Regions from separate parts of the Homo sapiens genome. Here all the other regions are linked to region 2. The links are contacts of gene promoters, found by promoter capture Hi-C in human tissues and cell types (Jung and others, 2019). All regions are on one chromosome and are shown on one strand. Each heading gives the region's core, a stretch centred on a gene start or on the middle of the fragment in contact. The rest is flanking DNA. Distances are from core to core; before and after follow the strand shown. Region 1 overlaps MTOR (mechanistic target of rapamycin kinase). Region 2 holds the start of UBIAD1 (UbiA prenyltransferase domain containing 1). Region 3 overlaps LOC105376740 (a long non-coding RNA gene).

Region 1 (2,928 bases), core at 264-2,763, 120 kb after region 2:
TAAATTTAGGAAGCATGTCTTTTAAAATCCGCTTTATTTATTTATATAACTAAAGCTGTTGTTGTTGTTGTTGTTGTTGTTGTTGTTTTTCTCAGTCCAACAAGTATCTAAAGCTGTATTGTCCAATATGGTAGCCTCTAGCCACATGTGGCTTTTTTTTTTTTTTTTTTTTTTTTTTTTTTTTTTTGAGACAGAGTCTCACTCTGTCACCCAGGCTGGAGTGCAGTGCTGTGATTTCGGCTCACTGCAACCTTCACCTCCCAGGGTCAAGTGATTTTCCTGCCCCAGCCTCCTGAGTAGCTGGGATTACAGGCATGCACCACCACTCCCGGCTGATTTTTGTATTTTTAATGGAGATGGGGTTTCGCCATGTTGGCCAGGCTGGTCTTGAACTCCCAACCTCAAGAAATCCACCTGCCTCAGCCTCTCAAAGGTCTAGGATTACGGGTGTGAGCCACTGCATCCGGCCTTATGGCTATTTTTAAATTAAATAAAATGTGAAATTCAGTTCCTCAGTCATACCACATTTTAGGTGTTCAGTAGCCACATGTGGCCAGTGGCTGCTGTATTGGACAGTGCACATAGAGAACTTTTCCATCATCACAGAAAGCTCTATTGGACAACACTGATCTAAGGCAAAAGAAAAGTATGTTAATAAGAATTATTCACATTATTTCAAAAACAATTTTTCTAGTTTCATATCAGCTGTCATACAATCATATCTTGTTATGAGAAAGATAAAACGAGATGGAAGTGTTCTTAAAATTCAACTCTAATCAATTCCTAAAATACTGCAATGTTTCACTGTTGCCATTGGATTTACATATAAATATCACAGCCTGGCATTCAAAGTCTTTCCTATTATGGCACCAGCCCGCTTCTTCAGCACATTTCTCTGTGAACCCTTCTCTCATAATCTGAGCTCTGGCCAAATTATTCACTCTTCTCCAAGTCCTACATTCATTCGTTCCATTCTTTGAATTGCCCTCTTCTTCTGCCTCTTTTTCTACTTTTGAAATCCTCTCCACTGTTTCTTCCCTCTTGAAACCTCTCCTGGCCCCTTCCCCTTCCACTCCTCTCCTTTCACATTAAAGATGACCACTTTTCCTAGCTGGGTTAGTAGGAGCAGATTGGATACATTGGAAGAGACTTGAGATGTGGTTTCCTCCAATTCCTTTGTGTTATAGTTGAAGAAACTGAGGCTCACAGAAGTTGAGAAAACCGAGCTGAGTGATATCGATCTCCTGATGTTGCCGTTCTCAGTCCCAAATACCTCTGACCTCTTGGGTTCTTTCCCGTTTTATAGTTACCCATAAAGCGTAAGTGGCTAGTAATGCTGACCAAAGGATTTAAGAATGTGGGAGACTAAAAGAGGTTTTAAAACGAGTCGAAAGAAGCAGAATATTTTTCCTGATCATATGCAGGTTTCTGATACGGTTTATTCAGTCAATTCTGTTTAGAGTGCAATTTCTAAATTTCTTTTGTGTGCGTATATCCTGAATATGCCTGAGGCAGATGTTCATCAGAGGTGACATGAAGAATGATCTGGAGTTAACAGTGAGCTGAGACCCTTCCCATTTCCCCATTCTTATCTGCCTCCAGGAGGCTGTGAGAGCTAGGCAACCCGCACCCCCTGCCCTGCCCAGCCCTATGGTGCAGGCAGCCACGCCTGCAGCCAAAGTGAACTAAAGTGAACCCCCTCCTCAAACTGTTCCCCACACAGCTAGGTATTGAGAACAGATTCCTCGGGAGTGAGATCATAGGCCCTCAACCCTAAGAGGAGCCATGGAGCCATTCCAAATGAAAGAATACTTCCTAAGCTTTTTATTTGTTTTAAATCTTCAGGGACCATGCTATCTTCTCTGTATCGTTCCAATTTTAGTATATGTGCTGCCAAAGCAAGCACTTTCTGCGTTTTTTGCCAGAACGCTAGGTGAGAAAATCAAAGTCTCAGAGGGTGCACCTTTTACCCAGTCCTCCCTATGTGTAGTGAAAGGTATCAGAAAAACATATCCTAGTTGTTGCCCCATAAACAATCTCATGTTTTTTATTTATTTGGTTTTGCCCCTCACCCAACCGCCCTTGAGAGGTAGGACTCGGTATATTCTGCATTATTTTTTGTAACAAATGTTTGTGGAAGAGCAATGCTCTTGTCTGTGTACTGACCAAGCTCTGACAGCTGTTCCCACACAGCTGCATGGTGAAGGCCGTGCGAAGTTCACTGCTAGGGCTTGCCCTTCTGAGTTGCTGTTCCTACATTGCTCCCTGCTTTGTCTCTTGGGGTAACAATTTGTGGGATTTCAGCACTGAACTTGCTTCCTGCTCTAGATGAAAAGAAAAACTACATCCTTGGTCCTGTGGCACAGAATCAGCTGATCCTGAAAAAATAATAGAGGGAGGCTGAGTTAGGAGGGACAGCTTGCATGAAGGATGCATTCATCCAAGTTGCTTGTGTTCACCAGCTGTAAATTTTGAACTATAGGGTTGGAAGGACCATTTGGAGATCATGCAGCTTTCTCTTCTACCTCTAGTCAGGATCCCTACAAAAATATGCTGTGCAGATGAGCTGTGCCTCTGCTTTAAGCCAGTGGTTCTCAAACTGTGACCCCTGGTCCAGCAGTTTTGGCGTCACATAGAAACTTGTTACAAATGCACATTCTCAGCCCCTATCCCAGCACTACTGAGTCAGAAACTCAGAGGGTGGAGCCCAGCCATCTGAAGGAGCCTTCCAGGGGATTCTGATGCACTTAGTAGTTTGAGAACTACTGCTCTAAGGGAACCCCTAGCAGGGCCCAGGAGTGAAGATTTCTAAGTCTCGGTGGCAGAAAACCAACACAGAGGTTTATCCTGTTCCCTTAATGGAGCTTCAGTAAATGCATAGGGCATCATGGCCACCAGTTCCTCTTTTTGGTCTCAGCTCTGTATTGA
Region 2 (2,718 bases), core at 141-2,640:
CGGTGGCTCACGCCTGTAATCTTAGAACTTTGGGAGGCTGAGGCGGGTGGATCACGAGGTCAGGAAATCGAGACCATCCTGGCCAACATGGTGACACCCCGTCTCTAATAAAAATACAAAAATCAGCCAGGCGTGGTGGCGTGCACCTGTAGTCCCAGCTACTCGGGAGGCTGAGGCAGGAGAATCGCTTGAACACGGGAGGCAGAGGCTGCAGTGGGCCGAGATCGCACCACTGCACTCCAGCCTGGGCGACAGAGCGAGACTCCGTCTCAAAAATGAATACATAAAAAATAAATAAAAATAAATGTCCATATAAAATTTTCAGTCATGCCCTACGTCCGTAAGTCAAACCAGGATCTTCTCAAATCACTGTTTCAAAAAATTCACATCACCCACAATTATAGACTTCAATTAAAGCGGCTTAAATTAGAAAGCCACCTTTGACATCCCTATAACTCCTTTACAAAGCAGCGGTTTCCAGTGGACGCGACTAAGACCTGCAGCACACAGGACAGGCCAAATCTTACCTCCTGTGTAGAGAAAGGAGCCAGACAGGCCTCCAAAGTAGATAAGAGCCAAGTGCTCCAGTTTCAGAGGGGACAGGTAGTAGAGGCAAGCGGCACAGACGCAGCCCAACGTGTAGAGGAAGACTCCGAACCGGACGACATCCTGCGGCTCCAAGATTCGGTCCACAAGTGTCCTGTCATCACTCTTTTTGTGGTCAATGCCCTTGGAAAAGTCATAGTAAGTGTTGACCAAATTACCGGCCCCGTGCACAGCCAGGACAGCCACGGCACAACCCACCAAGAGCCTGGGATCCAGGACACCGTGGGATCTGTAGGCAAGGGCACTGCCCAGGGCCACCGGTGTGAGTGAGGCACTGAAGCTCCAGGGCCTCAGGGCCAACACGTAGGAGGCACACTTCTGCCTCCAGGAGCGCTGGGGGAGCCTATCTTGCTCGGGACAGTCGTTCCCCAGCGGGTCCCTGTCCCCAGCTTTGACAGTCTCTCCCGACAGGATGTTAATCTTCTCCCCCAGGACCTGAGAGGCCGCCATGGAAGCTCCACGTGGTTGAAGTAAACTCTAAAAGTGAGCCACGCACAGTGACCGCCCGGGAAGGAGGAAGGACGGGGCGGGGCAGCAGGGCCCGACCTTCCTTCGGTTCCGCCCCAGGACAGGGCTGGTGTGGCGGCAAGGTCCGGGGGCAACAGCAAGTGGGTCTTACACCCCACGAGGCCAAGCGGCGCCGCCCCTACTACCCGTCACCTGGGCGAAGTCTGTCTCCGGCCCCCAGCCCCGCGTTAGAGCCCACGGCTGAGCCGCGGCCGCCTTCTTTAGGCCGCCAGAGCCGCCATCTTGTGCGCCGGCCTCTGGAGGCCCGCCCGGAAACAGGTGCCGGCGGCGCGGGCTGGACCGGAGGGTGGGCTGGAGGGCGGGAGGGGGCGGGGCCGAGCCAGAGGCGGGGAGAAGGGCGGTGAGGGGTGGGGGGCGGGGGCCTGGTCAGAGGCGGGGCGGGCAGGGCCGAGTCAGAGGAGGGGCGGGGTCAGAGGCGGGGAGAAGGGCGGTGAGGGGTGGGGCGGGGCTGAGGGGCGGGGCCAGACCGGTGGTGGGGCGGGAGGGGGCGGGGCCGGGGCGGGAATGGACCGGGAGCGGGGACGGGCCAGGAGCTGGGGCCGGGCGGTGACCCGGCATCCAGCCCTTTTCCTGCCTGCACTGCGCCCCGCAGCTACTTCCAGACTAACTGCAATCAGCCTCTCTTAGCATCATAAGAACTCGAAGGCGTGTTGCTTTAGGACTTACCGGGCGCACTTTCATTCACGAAGTAGGATTCATTAATTTATTCATGCTACAAGCATTTATTGAGCGCCTGCTGTGTGCATACATTCTGACGTCTATCATATCTGCACCGTGGAAATACTCTATGATGTGCTACTGCTCACCTCTTATCAGCTTTTCATTCAGTGACATCCTTCAGCAGCTTGAAATCTGCCCATGGTGGGAGAATTTACACCACGCAAATCAGCAAATGCTTAATAACTGCTAAGTCGTCTAGACTTAAGAAAGTGGCGGAGAAAATGTTCATATTACTGGTTAAACTTAAAAGTGTTGGAGGGTGCGGTGGCTCACGCCTGTAATCCCAGCACTTTGGAAGGCCGAGGCAGGCGGATCACTTGATGTCAGGAGTTCGACATCAGCCTGGCCAACATAGCGAAACCCTGTCTCTACTAAAAATACAAAAATTAGCCGTGCGTGGTGGCAGGCACCTGTAATCCCAGCTACTCGGGAGGCTGGGGCAGGAGAATTGCTTGAACCCGGGAGATGGAGGTTGCAGTGAGCCAAGATCATGCCAATGGGCTCCAGCCTGGGCAACAGAGTGAGACTCCATCTCAAAAAAAAAAAAAAAATTAGCCGGGGGTGGTGGTGCATTCCTGTAATCACAGCTACTCGGGAGGCTGAGGCAGGAGAATTGCTTGAACCCTGGAGGCAGAGGCTGCAGTGAGCCAAGATCACGCCACTGCACTCCAGCCTGGGCAGTAGAGCGAGACTCCGTCTCAAAAAAGAAAAAAAAGAGAGAAAAAAAGTGTGTAAGTGAATGCACCAAAACTTTGAGGAAATATTCGTTCAGCATTGGCAAATTATTATCCAGTTGAACAAATAAGTCGCTTGTAGCCTTGACAAACTAGTGAAGTTCTGACATATCTCTTTTGATTGTTTCAC
Region 3 (2,884 bases), core at 318-2,817, 100 kb before region 2:
AAGGCTCTGACCTTGGACTAGCAGACTTGCCAGAGTCGAGAATTCAGCCTTCTCTGTAGCTCCACTTATAATTAAGTTGTGGGCCCGATCCTCAGGTTTTTCTGTCTGCGAGCTGCAGAAGATGAGAGTCTCTTGATATATGCTGCCAAGGAGGGCCTCTGGATCTCACACCTCACTTAAATCGGTGATTAATCACCCCAGCTTTACATGGTCTTCTTCCAATGCACTGAAGGCCCCCAGCAATCACTATCTGGTTTTTTTTTCCCTTTTTTACTTTTATTTTTTGAGACAGGGTCTTGCTCTGTCACTCAGGCTGGAGTGCAGTGGTATGCTCACCACCCACTGCAAACTTGACTTCTTGGGCTCAAGCGATCCTCTTTCCTCAGCCTCCCAAGTAGCTGGGACTACAGATGCACGCCACCACCTTGGCACTATTCACATTTTGGGCCACATAATTCTTTGTCGTAGGAGCTGTAGGATTTTTTTTTTTTTTTTTTTTTGAGACAGCGTTTCCCTCTGTCATCCAGGCTGGAGTGCAGTGGCACAGTCTTGGCTCACTGCAACCTCTGCTTCCCGGGTTCAAGTGATTCTCCCTGCCTCAGCCTCCTGAGTAGCTGGGATTACAGGCACCCGCCACCATGCCCAGCTAATTTTTGTATTTTTGGTAGAGATGGGGTTTCACCATGTTGGCCAGGCTGGTCTCCAACTCTTGACCTCAGGTGATCCACCCAGCTTGGTCTCCCAAAGTGCTGGGATGACAGGCACCCGCCACTATGCCCAGTTAATTTTTGTATTTTTAGTAGAGATGGGATTTAGCCATGTTGGCCAGGCTGGTCTCGAACTCCTGACCGCAGGTGATCTGCTTGCCTCGGCCTCCCAAAGTGTTGGGATTACAGGCGTGAGCCACCGCGCCCGGTCGCATCATAGGATTTTTAACAGCATCGCTGACCTCTACCTCCTGGGTACCAATAGCCATGCCATCCCCCTCCCCCACAATTATGACAACAGAAATGTCTTCAGGCATTCTTGGATGGTTTTTCGTTTGTTTAGTTGGTTTGGGTTGGGTTGCGTTTTTTTGTAGAGGCAGGATCTTGCTAGGTTGCCCAGGCTGGTCTTGAACTTCTGCCCTCAAATGATCCTCCCATCGTGGCCTCACAAAGTGCTGGAATTACAGAGGGGTGAGCCACTGTGCCTGGCCAGCAATCACTATCTGACTCCACAGTTTTTATAATGATTACTTCCCCCAAATCTCTCAAATGGCTGAGATATATCTGCCAATGCATTCCCTTCTGTGGATTTTCCATCCCAGTTCACCATGACTGAGAGTTTTAACAACTGCCCTGCTATAGCACAACAGACCCCTACCTCCCAGGGATGGGGGCCTCATTGCTGGACCCAGCAAGTAACGCAACTCAAAAATCCCATTGAAAAATCTGCTTCCCATGACCTCTTCCAATACTAACTGCCTTCCACCAGAACTCAGCGGTAGGGATTTCTGAAAAGGAGAAAAAGAGCAGAATTAGACAGAGGGAGAAATTGAACTGTGATGCGGTGGCTACAAAGGGCCCAGACAATACTGCAGGGAGCCCTGGGGCTCCGATGAACTTTCAGAGCTGTTTCAAATCAAAGAATCCTATTTGATTCTCAAAACAACTTTACAAGGATGGCACTATCATTATCCTCTATCTATAGACGAGGAAACTGAGCTCAGAGAGGTAAGTGACCTGCCCAGGATCACACAGCTTTGAGGGGTTGAGCTGGGATTTCCACCCAGGTCTTTCACTCTCTAAAGATTCCTTCTAGGCTGGGTGCGGTGGCTCACACCTGTCATCCCGGCACTCTGGAGGCTGAAGCAGCAGGATCCTTGAGGCCAGGATTGAGACCAGCCTGGGCAACATAGGGAGATGCTCACTCTACAGGGTATTTTTTAAATTAGCTAGATGTGGTGGCATGCACCTATAGTCCCAGCTACTCAAGAGGCTGAAGCCGGAGGATCACTTGAGCCCAGGAGTCGGAGGCTACAACGAACTGTAATTGTACCACTGCACTCCAGCCTGGGCAACAGTGCAGGACCCTGTCTTGAAATAATAATAATAATAATTTTAATAAAATAACAAATAAAGCTTCCTTCCAACTTGTCCTCCCCAGTCTCCTAGGGCCTCGGAGTTCTCTGTTGGATCCTCTTCATTCGGCTGGCAGAAAACAGGGCGGCAGACGGGATGTTGCGTAGGAGGTGTCACAGGCCAGGTGTGGGCACGCCAGTCATCACTTCTACCCACATTCCGCTGGCCAGAACTCAGCCAAGTGGCCCAAGGTCGCTGTCTACAAGGGAGGCTAGCAATGTAGTCTAGCTGTGTGCCCAGGAGCAAAGGAGAAATGATTTAGTCCAGTCTCAGCCCTGCCCTGAATATGGGAGTGCTGAGAGCCAGCAGAGCAGACAGAGCCCATCTGTTTCATTAATTTGCTGTTTGTTCTTGGGCTGGGGGTGGAGGAATGCCCACAGGAGCTAATTTAGTTGGCAGCAAAAGGGAGTGAGTTGGGAGGTACCCATGGGTTCTGGTTTATCAGCCCAGGCCCAGGGCACATAAGGAGCAGCCATCTCTGAGGAACACCGGGCCTGAAATCCAGGGGTTCAAGTGCACAGATGGACCTGGGAGGTGGAGGCTGCTATTACTCCGTGGAAGGGAGAAGTGAGGCCAGTTGGTGGGTTAGCGGGATTCACCTGCCCCGAGTGAGCCAGCGAGTCCTGAACAGCTCAGGAAAGAGGTCAGGGGTACCTGACAGCCTCCCTTCTTCTAGGAGTTCCTGTGAGGTGTGTGGAGCCAGGCCTCAGCTCACCCCACTGTAGGCTGCATCCAGATGAGGGGGGCCAGGGCTTCAAGAG

What was found. The method cuts DNA at HindIII sites, captures the fragments that hold promoters and counts their contacts. A contact is called where the count stands out against the background at its distance.
Region 1: a fragment that was not itself captured here is called in contact with the fragment with the promoter of UBIAD1 in region 2 in 4 of the 25 tissues and cell types used here (heart left ventricle, heart right ventricle, mesendoderm cells and 1 more).
Region 3: a fragment that was not itself captured here is called in contact with the fragment with the promoter of UBIAD1 in region 2 in 7 of the 25 tissues and cell types used here (H1 embryonic stem cells, IMR-90 fibroblasts, dorsolateral prefrontal cortex and 4 more).

The regions. Positions count from the first base shown.
Region 1 is chr1:11,151,328-11,154,255 of GRCh38, reverse strand. The region is part of intron 30 of MTOR (mechanistic target of rapamycin kinase); the gene reads left to right. It also overlaps the pseudogene RNU6-537P. Among named protein-coding and RNA genes, the nearest start is that of MTOR-AS1, 8.9 kb to the right of the region's middle. The HindIII fragment of the contact is 5,912 bases long and covers 1-2,928 here.
Region 2 is chr1:11,271,870-11,274,587 of GRCh38, reverse strand. It overlaps UBIAD1 (UbiA prenyltransferase domain containing 1), which reads right to left and starts at 1,390. Exons shown (of 2, transcript NM_013319.3): 1 at 528-1,390. The coding sequence starts at 1,056. RefSeq lists enhancers at 1,122-1,171, 1,262-1,431 and silencers at 1,432-1,481, 1,542-1,811. The HindIII fragment of the contact is 12,769 bases long and covers 1-2,718 here.
Region 3 is chr1:11,376,754-11,379,637 of GRCh38, reverse strand. It overlaps LOC105376740 (a long non-coding RNA gene), which reads right to left. Exons shown (of 4, transcript XR_946959.3): 4 at 2,102-2,351. Among named protein-coding and RNA genes, the nearest start is that of DISP3, 100 kb to the left of the region's middle. The HindIII fragment of the contact is 5,798 bases long and covers 1-2,884 here.